Linked DNA regions of Homo sapiens: region 2 is linked to region 1. The links are contacts of gene promoters, found by promoter capture Hi-C in human tissues and cell types (Jung and others, 2019). All regions are on one chromosome and are shown on one strand. The core of a region is centred on a gene start or on the middle of the fragment in contact, and the rest is flanking DNA. Distances in the headings are between cores, read along the strand shown. Region 1 holds the start of UBE2G2 (ubiquitin conjugating enzyme E2 G2). Region 2 overlaps TSPEAR (thrombospondin type laminin G domain and EAR repeats).

Region 1 (5,214 bases), core at 868-3,367:
CTTGAATTCCACATAAGGTACTGAACGACGTCCCTGAAATGTTGCAGAGAGCCTGGTTCTCTGAAGATAAGGTGTTGTAACAGTCCTGTTGAGGGGAGAGACTGCCATCTTGTTTCAGCAACTCATATTTCAAGTGACTTTTGTCACTTGAAGCTGAAGCTAATCCTGATAGAAGCTGTAAACCACATTTCTGAAAAATAATAATTGGAAAACATACAGTGTTCTGCAGTAAGATGTCTGAAAAAGATGGATAAAATTATGAAAACATCAAGCATATGTTGCAGTGAACATCACGGCATTGACAGTAATGCTTTATTGCCCACATCTCCCATAACTGGAAAAGGGGAGCTGCTCTCCTTTAGGAGCACTGGACAGACTGCCTTGGGGTGTGGGGTGCTGTCTGATTAGAGAGAGAGCAGCTCTTGAATGGGGGAGGAAACACCTCCACTGTGACTTTTTGCACATTGCATTTGCACAAATTACTCTCTGAAACAGTCTCAAAGGACCATGTCATTTTATAAAGCACTGTGGTCATTTGAAAAGATGGAGGTAGACTGAAATTTTGAATTTTGGGGAATTTTCCTACACTATGCATACTTGTGAAGTTTGTATTGTTAAATTTCATTTGATTTGACAAATCCGTGTTAAGAGTATACGATGTCCAGGTACAGAGGCTGCCCCAGAAACAAGACAGAAGTAGGCAGGGACCCATGGCTCTCATGGAACACGCTTTTGGTTAGAGGCAACAGATAAGGGTAATACATTTATAGCATGCCAGTAAGTTCTATAGTACGGTGTGTTGAGTAGGTGTTGCAGAGAAAAAGGTATGCGGTGAAGGCCGGGTGGTGACGGCCTAGGCCACACTGAAGAGGCAACATTTGAGCAAAGACTGAAAGAGCAGGTGGGAAGAGTCGGGGACAAGAGCCGCCAGAAAGTGTTTCCGGGGAGGGAAGAGTCAGGGACTCTGAACCAGGCCAGGGCAGCTGGAGTGGAGTGAGAGGGAGGGAGGGTCTGGGAGTATGGCGGGGTGACCGGAGGCAGAGCAAAGCACTGCAGGACTTCAGCTTTACTGAGTGAAATGGGCGGAGCAGAGTGTGAATGTGATCAGACTTCTTTTCAAGGGATCATCTGCAATGCTGGAAAGGAAAAGACAAATGATAGATTATTGCAACAAACAGCCAGGCAAGAGATGCAAACTTTTTTTGCAAAGGTGTGTGTGTATATACATCCTTGCACCGGACAGCCACGAAGCACCTACTGTGCTGTGAAGTCAGTAAGGATGTGGGTTAAAATCGCTCACCTCACAGCGGGTCAATCGGGAAAGCACACCCACTCACTACAGCCATTATGGGAAAAAGGGCTCGCCCCTTACAGGATCCTCAACTGTGGAGAGGCCGGGAGCCCACGCGGGGCGCTGGGGAGTCTCTCAGCACCCCAGGGGTTCGGGCAGGGACCTGAGCCGCGCCCTCTCTCCCGGGGGTGCCCTGGGGTCGAGGCTGCTCGGCAGAGCCGGCGGTCAGTTCGAGCCGCGGGCCCGAACAGGGCTCTCCCCGCGGCTCTCTCCCTCGGAGTAGAAGGTGCTGGACCCGAACTCCAGCGGAGCCGCACAACACGTGGAGGAAAAGCGCCAGGACAGCTAACCTTCCCACCTTTTCAAACCTGAAACCCGGCCGGCTGGGGACGGTTGGAATGTTCAGTGCGTACCCGCACCTCAGGCCCCTTGTCTCCAGCCCCAGACCGCCCCGCGACCATCCTCCCCACCCCCCGACCTCTTATCTCGTCCCCGCCCTGTCTCCCCAACCTCCATCCTCCCCTCCACAACCCCCGTCCTCCCGCCCTTCGGCCACGCGCGGCTGGCACAGAACAGGCAGTTAGCGCACACACACTGGAACAGGCGCCACCGTTCAGGAAGTCTCTACAAGACCAGGACCCTGAGGCCTCTGGAAGTGCCGGGACCGAACCAACCCCGCAGAGCGACTAAGGCGAGGGCAGGAGCCAAGAGAATCGTAGCCGCGGTCGCGGGTTGAGCTCCCACCACCCGGACAGCGCGCCTCGGCGATCGCGCACGCGCCACGCCCCGGAAGAGTTCCTGGGCCCGCGACGGTGGCCCGGAAGCAGTCCCCGGTGTCGGGGCAGGAGGCACGCGCGCGGCTGAGGCGAGGTCGCTCGGCGCAGCTGTTGCGGGGCCATGGCGGGGACCGCGCTCAAGAGGCTGATGGCCGAGTACAAACGTGAGTCTGGGGACCCGGGCCGTCAGCAGCGTCCCGCGTTCCTGCTCCCGGGCCCGCGTCGTCCGGCGGGGCTGGGGCAGGGAGCCTGGCGGGGGAGCCGGGCCCGGGGCCTCCACCGTGAGCCCCCCTGTGGGTCCCGCGGAGTGCCGCGCCCTGCGCCCGCTGCCCACTCTCACGCGTGAAGTCGTGAAGAGAAGCCTTCCCAGCATCAGTAAAGGCAGCGCCGGCGCCGTGTTAGTTGAGAGCACACACAGTTGAGTCTTTGCGGGCTTGTTTTTTTCTCTTCTATTTTTTCTTTTCTTGGCAGCCTTGAGAACGTGCAGTGAGAGCTTGAGGAAGAAGGCCTGACTTGCTGCTGCGGAATTAGGAGGGAAAAGTGTATGCGTTAAAAGGGGAAAGGCTCGTTGGTGGAGCTTTGAAAGGTCAGATTTTGGCTTTCCCTCTAATGAAGGAAAAGGGTTTTTGAACAGTGCCACCTGTCACTCCTCCTAGGTAGTGTTGAGGAAACCTCTTGAGTGCTTTCCTACCCGGTAAATTAGATATTTCTAATGTCTGAGGAGAGCGAAGGGAGAAATGAGAACCTAGGAACACTCGGCATTCCATCGTTTTACACCGAATGCCCGCTTGGAAGAACTGCTGCGAGAAGTCTTGGAATACCATTGTGTTGAAAGCGCCAGGAGCCTGAGTCGCCGATGGAGACGAGATAGTAGCCGGCTAAGAGCAGGGCCTGAGTTCAGACCCGGCCTCTCTGCTTGTTAGCTCTTTGACCTTGTTCCTCTCTCTGTCTCTGCAGTTTCCTTGTCTTAAAAGGTTAAACTTGATACTGCAGGTGAAGTGCTTAGCAAAATACCTGATGTGTAACCCTTAATAAAGTTAGCTGCTGCTTTTGTAATTAGATTGAGGATAATTTTGGAAGAAAGTTAAGCTAAAAGAATGAATGTGAGAAAAAAAATAAGTGGTGAATATACATGTAGCTTGATTTCGTAAAACTATTGGTGACACCGCCCAGTAAGAGTTGATGTTTGGCTTAAGCAGACCAAAACGTTGCAAATACAGGCTCACTCACGTATGGTCATTCTTCCCTTGGTATCTGGAGGGGATTGGTTCCAGGCCCCGCTGCAGATACCAGAATCCTCGGATGCTCAAGTCCCTACTATAAGGTGGCGTGGTATTTGCATTTAATGTATGCATAGCCTCTCATAACTTTTAAATCATCTCAAGGTTACTTATAGTACCTAATGCAATGTAAGTGCTGCACAAATAGTTACACTGATTTTTTTTACTTGTATTTTTAAATCGTCATTTTTTATTGTTATTTTTTTCAAATATTTTGTATTCCTGGTTGGTCGAATCCATGGATATGCAGCCGCAGATACACAGGGCCTCCTGTAAACGTTCAAATAACGCTCGCCACCTAGTGTCTGCTAAAGCAGAACATAAAGGCACACCTCAGTTTCCCGCGCGCTTTGCTTTATTGAGCTTCACTTCGCAGATCTTGCATTTTTTACAAGTTTACAAGTTTTTTACAAGCAACCCTGCATGGAAGCAAGTCTGTTGGCACCATTTTTGCTCGCTTCGTGTCTCTCTCTTACATTTTAATCTATTACTGTGATCTATGATCAGTAATCTTTGATGTTACTATTGTAATTATTTTGGGGCATCACAAACTATGCCCATAAAAGATGGTAGTCCTAATAAATGTTGTGTGTGCTTCACTGACTGGCTGTTTCCCCATCTCTCTCCCGGCCTCTCTCTTCCCTGAGACAAAACAACATTGAAATTAGGCCAATAGTAACTGTACAGTGGGCTCAAGTGTTGAAGTGAAGAGTTGCACTCTACCCACTTCAAATCAAAAGCTAGAAATGATTAAGTTTAGTGAGGAAGGAATGTTGAAAGTCAAGATAGGCTGAAAGCTGGGTCTCTTGTTAGCCAAGTTGTGAATGCAAAGGAAAAGTTCTTAAAGGAAATTAGAAGTGCTGCTCTGTTGAACACAATGAATGATAAAGTGAAAAAGCCTTACTGCTGATATGGAGAAAGTTTTAGTGGTTTGGATAGAAGATCAAACCAGCCATAACATTCCTTTAAGCCAAAGCCTAATCCAGAGCAAGGTCCTAACTCTTCAGTTTTATGAAGGCTGAGAGCAGTGAGGAAGCTGCAGAAGAAAAATTGGGAGCTAACAGAGGTTGGTTCATGAGATTGAAGTAAATAACCTGTCTCCATAACAGAAAAGCACAAGGTGAAGCAGCAAGGTCTCCAGAAGATCTAGCTAAGATCAAGATGAAAGTGGCTCCTAAATTAAGCAATAGATTTACAAGGTACGTAAAATAGCCTTATACGGTATTGGGAGGAGATGATGCCATATACAACGTAAACAGCTAGAGAGAAGTCAATGACTGGCTTCAAAGGACAGGGCGACTCTTGTTAGGGGCTAATGTCGGTCACTTTAAGTTGACTGAGTTGAAGCCAGTTCTCATTTATCATTCAGAAAATCTTAGGGCCCTTAAAAATTATGCTAAATCTACTCTGAGCTCTAGAGATGGAAAAACAACCTGGATGACAGCACATCTGTGTACAGCATGGTTTACTGAATATAAGCCCACTGTTGAGACCTACTGCTCAGAAAAAAAGATTATCTTCAAAATACTATTCCTGACAGTGCACCTGGTCACTCAAGAGCTCTGATGGAGAGGTATAAGGAGATAAATGTTTTTGTGCCTGCTAACACAACACCAATTCTGCAGCCCATGGATCCGGGAGCACTTTTGACTTATTTAAGAAATACATTTCATAAGGCCATAGCTGCCATGAAAAGTGATTTCTTTGATGGATCTGGGCAAAGAAAATCAAAAGTCTTCTGGAAAGGATTTATCATTCTAGATGGCATTAAGAACATCTGTGATTCATGGGAGGTCACCATATCAACAACAGGCGTTTGAAAAAGTTGATTTCAATGCTCATGGATGACTTTAAGGGGAGGAAGCAA
Region 2 (5,214 bases), core at 1,546-4,045, 270 kb after region 1:
TGCAGTCCTCAGAGTCCTGCCAGGCCAGGCATCCTTCAGCCGTGCTCGCCGAGCAACACCTGCAGGAGCTGTCCTGGGGCAGGAGCTGACCAGGGTCAGGAGCCATGGGGTGGAGGGGCAGGAGCCATCCACGGGGCAGGAGCCGACCAGGGGCCAGGAGCCATGGGGTGGAGGGACAGGAGCCATGGGGTGGAGAGGCAGGAGCCGACCAGGGGCCAGGAGCCATGGGGTGGAGGGGCAGGAGCCATCCACGGGGCAGGAGCCGACCAGGGGGCAAGAGCCATTCATGAGGCAGGGGCTGACCATGGGAGGTCAGGTCAGCGTCCGCGCCAGCCTCTGCAGGGCTGCATGGGGTGAGGCAGGCTCACCATCTGTGGGCAGAGTGGACATTGGCGAGAACAGGTGGTGAGTGATGCCCTGGATTCGGGCTGGAAGGGGAATGGGCCTCTCCCGCGGAGCGTTTATGAAGCACACTCCTGTCAAAACCCCGATTTTAATGTTTCTCCACGCCTTAAACACAAAACCCGCTGCACATCAGAGTCAGTGGCTTAGAACAAGGTAAGGGCGATCACACCAAGCGCACTCCTTTTCCAGAAGTAGCTCAGGGGACTTGGCAGGGGACCGGCACTGTGGGGAGGGCGCTAACATCACAACAGGCAGCAGCGGGAAGTCAGAGTAACTCCTTCCCCAACCTCCAGGCTGGAGGCCGAGGCCTGGCTCCGTGACTCCACATGGCAGGTTCCTCGTGGACGAGGGAGCAGATGTTGACAGAAACTCCAAATGAGTACAAGATTATCCTTTGTAGCCTTGGACACAATGGGGGCTTTTGGAAGCCGAGTTCGTTTCTCGTTTTTGCCGTCGCCTGGTTTGTGGCCTGACGGTAGGTCCCCTGGACAGGAGTCCTCAGTCCCCTAGCTCGGCCAGTTGGTTACCCATGTCAGGATCTACCACTGTGGAGCAGGGCTGCGCTTCTGTCTTTTTAATTGCAAATGATCCAGTTTATATTAAATCTATTAAATATTAAATTATTTCGAATATTACTTTCAAAGGTAGGATCTTCTGTTTTGTTATGAAACTTATCGCATAAATATTTTTATTATGCACTTAGCTTAAACACACTTTTATCAGAGCCTCTCTCCCACCATACCCCAAACTCTTTAGGGCCCTCAGGACGGTGATGAGTTCTCAGGTCCTGAGAGCTGGAAGCCTCCCAGGGACGTGCTGTGCAGGCTGAAGACAACCTGACCTAGCAGCAGCTTCCCACCCCGTAAAGAAAGTCCTGGCTGGACGTGAATGCTGCCTGACTTCTGGCTTTGCCACAGCAGCTAGGAATGACGTGGCGGCAGCGCCTGAGGCCTGGACAAACGTTCACCTGCCTCATCAGGAGAAAGGAAGAAATCAGGGTCGAAAGCATAATGATTAGGAATGTTCCCCGAATGTTTTAAAAGTGGACTTCCTGGGGAAGATGGTGGGACATGGGGAGTCACAGGCCTGGAACCAATTGTGGCCACGGAAGAACTTAACCCCTTGGCAGGCTGCTACGGAGGGTACAGGCCAGGGCTTGGGGGCCAGCAGCCTGGACCCTAGCAGAGGCCGAGCTGTGTGCAGAGGACGGGGCTTTCTGGGACAGCAGGGCAGGAGCTGAGCTCACCACGGCCAGCTGCAGCCAGATGGCAAAGACTGGAAGGAGCAGGTGTTTTACAAGAGACAGTGGCAGCGTGGGCGGGAGGCGAGCCCGAAGGCACCCCTGCTCTTCCGCCCAGGAGCTCTAGCCACGCTGTCCCTCAGCGGGCACCCACCTTGCTCCATCTCCGGAGTTCAGCCTCCACGCACTCGTCAAGACCGCCTGCTCCTGACACCCTCATGGGTCACCAGCCTCCTTCCTGTCCTGAAGCCATCTGTCCCAGCACCCCAGGCCGGGTGATGGTGCAGGAGCTCAGTGGAGGGAGGGTGAGTGGGCTGGAGGACCCTGTGCAGGTCGAAGCCACTGCACGTTCACCATGAGATAGGGAAGAACCACTAAGCATGTCACCACGCACTTCTGCAGGAGGCCCTGGCCCTGGGGTGAAGTGCCCCCCCCGAATTCATGTCCACCCAGCACCCGTGAATGTGACCTTACCTGGAAACAGAGTCTTTGCAGTCATCAAGTCAAGCTGAGATCATCCTGGAGTGAGGCGGGCCCTGCTCCAGTGTGACTAGGATCCTTACCAGGAGACAGATACTGGGAGAGTCGGACACTGGAGCGACATGGCCACAGGTCACGGGGAGCACGTGCAGCCACCAGAAGCTGATGAGTCGAGGAAGCGTCCTCCTCTGGAGCCTTCGGAGAAACCCTGCCCCAGCCTGATCCAGGCTACTGGGCTCCAGAGCTGTGCAGGCGATCAGCCCTGTGTGCCATCCTTTGTGTGGCAGCCACAGCACAGATGCACGCTGCTTAGTGAGGGGCTTGTTCCTGTTCCTTCTGTGAGTAAACTGGGGTGACCACTCTCCTATGGCCCTAACACAGTCCTTTGATATTTTCAGAATGGCCGATGTGCCCTTCCCAGCCACCCTGTCAGTGAAAGGAGCTCGATTCTTCGTCGGCAGCCGGAGGAGAGCCAAAGGCCTGTTCATGGCGAGTATGGAGGGGCTGCCTTCCCAACACCCGTGCTGCGGGATGGGACTGCCCCAGGCCAGTTGTCCTACTGCTCTAGTTGACAGATCCTTGGACGTGCTAACTGGGAAAAGAAGGTACAGCGTGCGTGGAGTCTCTACCACAGGGCCTTCACGCTTGCTGTTTCCTCCTGGCACCCTCCTCCCTGATGGTCTTGGGTCCCTGCCCAACGGTCCTCTTCAGGCTGCCCCCACCATGCTGAGCTGATGCCCACACTCTGCCCTGCAGCCCCTTCCCCGGAGCTGTCTTTCCTCAGTAGGGCCTGCTGCTCTCAGGCCAGCTGGGTGTCTGCTCGGTGCCTGTGTCTCCACTCACGTGTGAGTGGGGACCTCACTCCATGAGGCTAGAGGCCTTTGTTCCCTGCTGAGTCCAGTGTCTAGAGCCATGCCTGGCACATAGCAGATGCTCTGAATATTTATTGATGCATGGTTTGACAGATGGATGGGCAGATGGAGGGATGGACAAATGGATGGATGGATGGATGGATGCGTGGAGAGATGAACAGATGGAGAGAAAGATGAATGGATGGATGGAGGGATGGATGCGTGGAGAGATGAACAGATGGAGAGAAAGATGAATGGATGGATGAATGGATGGGTGGATGGAGGGATGGATGGATGAGTGATGGATGAATGGGTGGATGGATGGATGAATGCATGGATGAATGGATGGGTAGGTGGAGGGATGGATGGATTAGTGATGGATGAATGGATTGGACTGATGGATGGACAGATGGATGGATGAATGCATGGATGAACAGGATGGGTGGATGGGCTGTTGGATGAGCAGAGTAGCCAGTCACTCTAAGTTCACATAAAAAACCCCTTCTGTGGTTCAGTTCCCTCGGAAGGGGGGCAATTCTTCACCATTGCTCCCATGGCCTCCTCAGTAACCATCATGTAAACTCTTCCCAGTTAGCTCTGCAAAAGCTTAGATTCCATCCACCCGAGCCTCCTCCGGGCTCTGGATGGGCCAAGCTCAGTGGTCGCCTCCTCAGCGGGTCCTTCCCCAGCAGCGCGGGCCTGAAGGAGCTGTCCCTCTCTCTGCAGGGACTGGTGAGGCAACTGGTCCTGCTGCCGGGCTCAGACGCCACCCCAAGGCTGTGTCCCAGCAGGAACGCCCCGCTGGCGGTGCTGTCCATCCCACGGGTCCTGCAGGCTCTCACGGGGAAGCCAGAAGATAACGAGGTGCTAAAATATCCCTATGGTTAGTAGGGGGGCCACCCGCCCCCACACCAAAGGCAGATGCGAGAGCCCTGGCCTCACACCAGGCGGGAACTCAGGGCTCAGCTCTCAGCCCCTCTCGTGTGCCTGCCCCCCTCATCACTGCTACGGGGGGCAGCGGTCATATTGGCCAGGGGGATACTCGGGGCCCACCCCTAGGAAGGCAGGCGGCACCATCAGACAGGCCAGTGTCATCCTGCCCTTCCCTCCAAGCACTCCCACGACAGCCATCCAGCCCCTTCCTGGGGACCCCAGGCAGAAAACAGGCCTAACTTACTTTAGAAAGTCTGTCCAGAGCTATCTGACATCCCTCATCCCCTTTTGCCCCCCAAGGACAGCGTTTGGGCCATTTCTCCCCACCCCGCCTCTGTCCCACCATCATCCAGACCAGCCCGCCCCAGTCGGGCCCACTCTGGCCCTACACTCACGTCTTCCACGATCCCCCGGCCCAGAGGGCCTCCCCGCTTGATTTTCTCTTGTGTGAAGTTACAAGGGTGACTGTATTTATTTAAACCACACTCCTGCCATGGAGAATCTGAAATGCCCCTCCCCGCCGCATCCCCACTGCTCTCAGCCAACCCGAGGGGCAGTGAGGTGGAGAACAGCCGAGCCCCCGAGCCTCAGGGTTAGCGGTTACCAAGTAGGGGAGCCCCCACCTCCAACACATCCGGGCCGCATGGTATACTGTGTCACACCGCTGGCCAGCACCGGCTGGCAGGTGCACAGATGTCCCACATAGAGTCAAGAGGTGGCAGAATTAGGACCCATGGTGGGGTGTGATTACTGGAAGTGATGAGATCAAACCGCCACAGGTTCAAGCCAAGCCGTCGTTAAGATACACCACTGTCAACAGGGACTCCCTCCTGAGGGGGGACCATGCCCTGTGCAATCGCTGAGGACTCTCAGAGGAGCAGGCCTTTTCTGCCTCAATGGGATGGAAAGCCACGCCTTTCAGAGTGGACAGAGGGTGGGCTGACCATATAGGGGGCATCATGATGTCCTTCGTCACCGGTAGGCCAGGTTCTCAATTCCCCGTCTGTGATGTGGCAGGCTTGTGCCAAGGTGCCTGCAGGGGCCCTTCCAGGCCCGCATGCAGAGGCTGAGGCAGGGCAGCCTGGTTTGGGGGCCTCTTCCTGTGTCGTCTTCCTTTGGGGGCACTGGCTTGCTGGAAACTCATCTTCCTGGTCTTCCCCTCAGAAACCAACATTCGAGTGACGCTGGGACCCCAGCCACCGTGTACCGAGGTGGAAGACGCCCAGTTCTGGTTTGATGCCAGCCGGAAGGGCCTGTATCTGTGTGTTGGCAACGAGTGGGTCTCCGTGTTAGCAGGTGAGGCAG

What was found. Contacts are between HindIII fragments. The study calls those that stand out against the background at their distance.
Region 2: a fragment that was not itself captured here is called in contact with the fragment with the promoter of UBE2G2 in region 1 in 1 of the 25 tissues and cell types used here (mesendoderm cells).

Annotation. Positions count from the first base shown.
Region 1 is chr21:44,798,723-44,803,936 of GRCh38, reverse strand. It overlaps UBE2G2 (ubiquitin conjugating enzyme E2 G2), which reads left to right and starts at 2,117. Exons shown (of 6, transcript NM_003343.6): 1 at 2,117-2,231. The coding sequence starts at 2,189. It overlaps LINC01424 (long intergenic non-protein coding RNA 1424), which reads right to left and starts at 1,696. Exons shown (of 2, transcript NR_109928.1): 1 at 1,301-1,696; 2 at 1-190. RefSeq lists silencers at 1,499-1,548, 2,049-2,268, 2,329-2,388 and an enhancer at 1,936-2,891. The HindIII fragment of the contact is 9,913 bases long and covers 1-5,214 here.
Region 2 is chr21:44,528,443-44,533,656 of GRCh38, reverse strand. TSPEAR (thrombospondin type laminin G domain and EAR repeats) reads left to right here. Exons shown (of 12, transcript NM_144991.3): 4 at 2,524-2,614; 5 at 3,703-3,859; 6 at 5,074-5,205. It overlaps LOC124905038 (a long non-coding RNA gene), which reads right to left. Exons shown (of 2, transcript XR_007067905.1): 1 at 2,120-5,214; 2 at 475-1,372. Among named protein-coding and RNA genes, the nearest start is that of KRTAP10-1, 9.1 kb to the left of the region's middle. The HindIII fragment of the contact is 5,517 bases long and covers 37-5,214 here.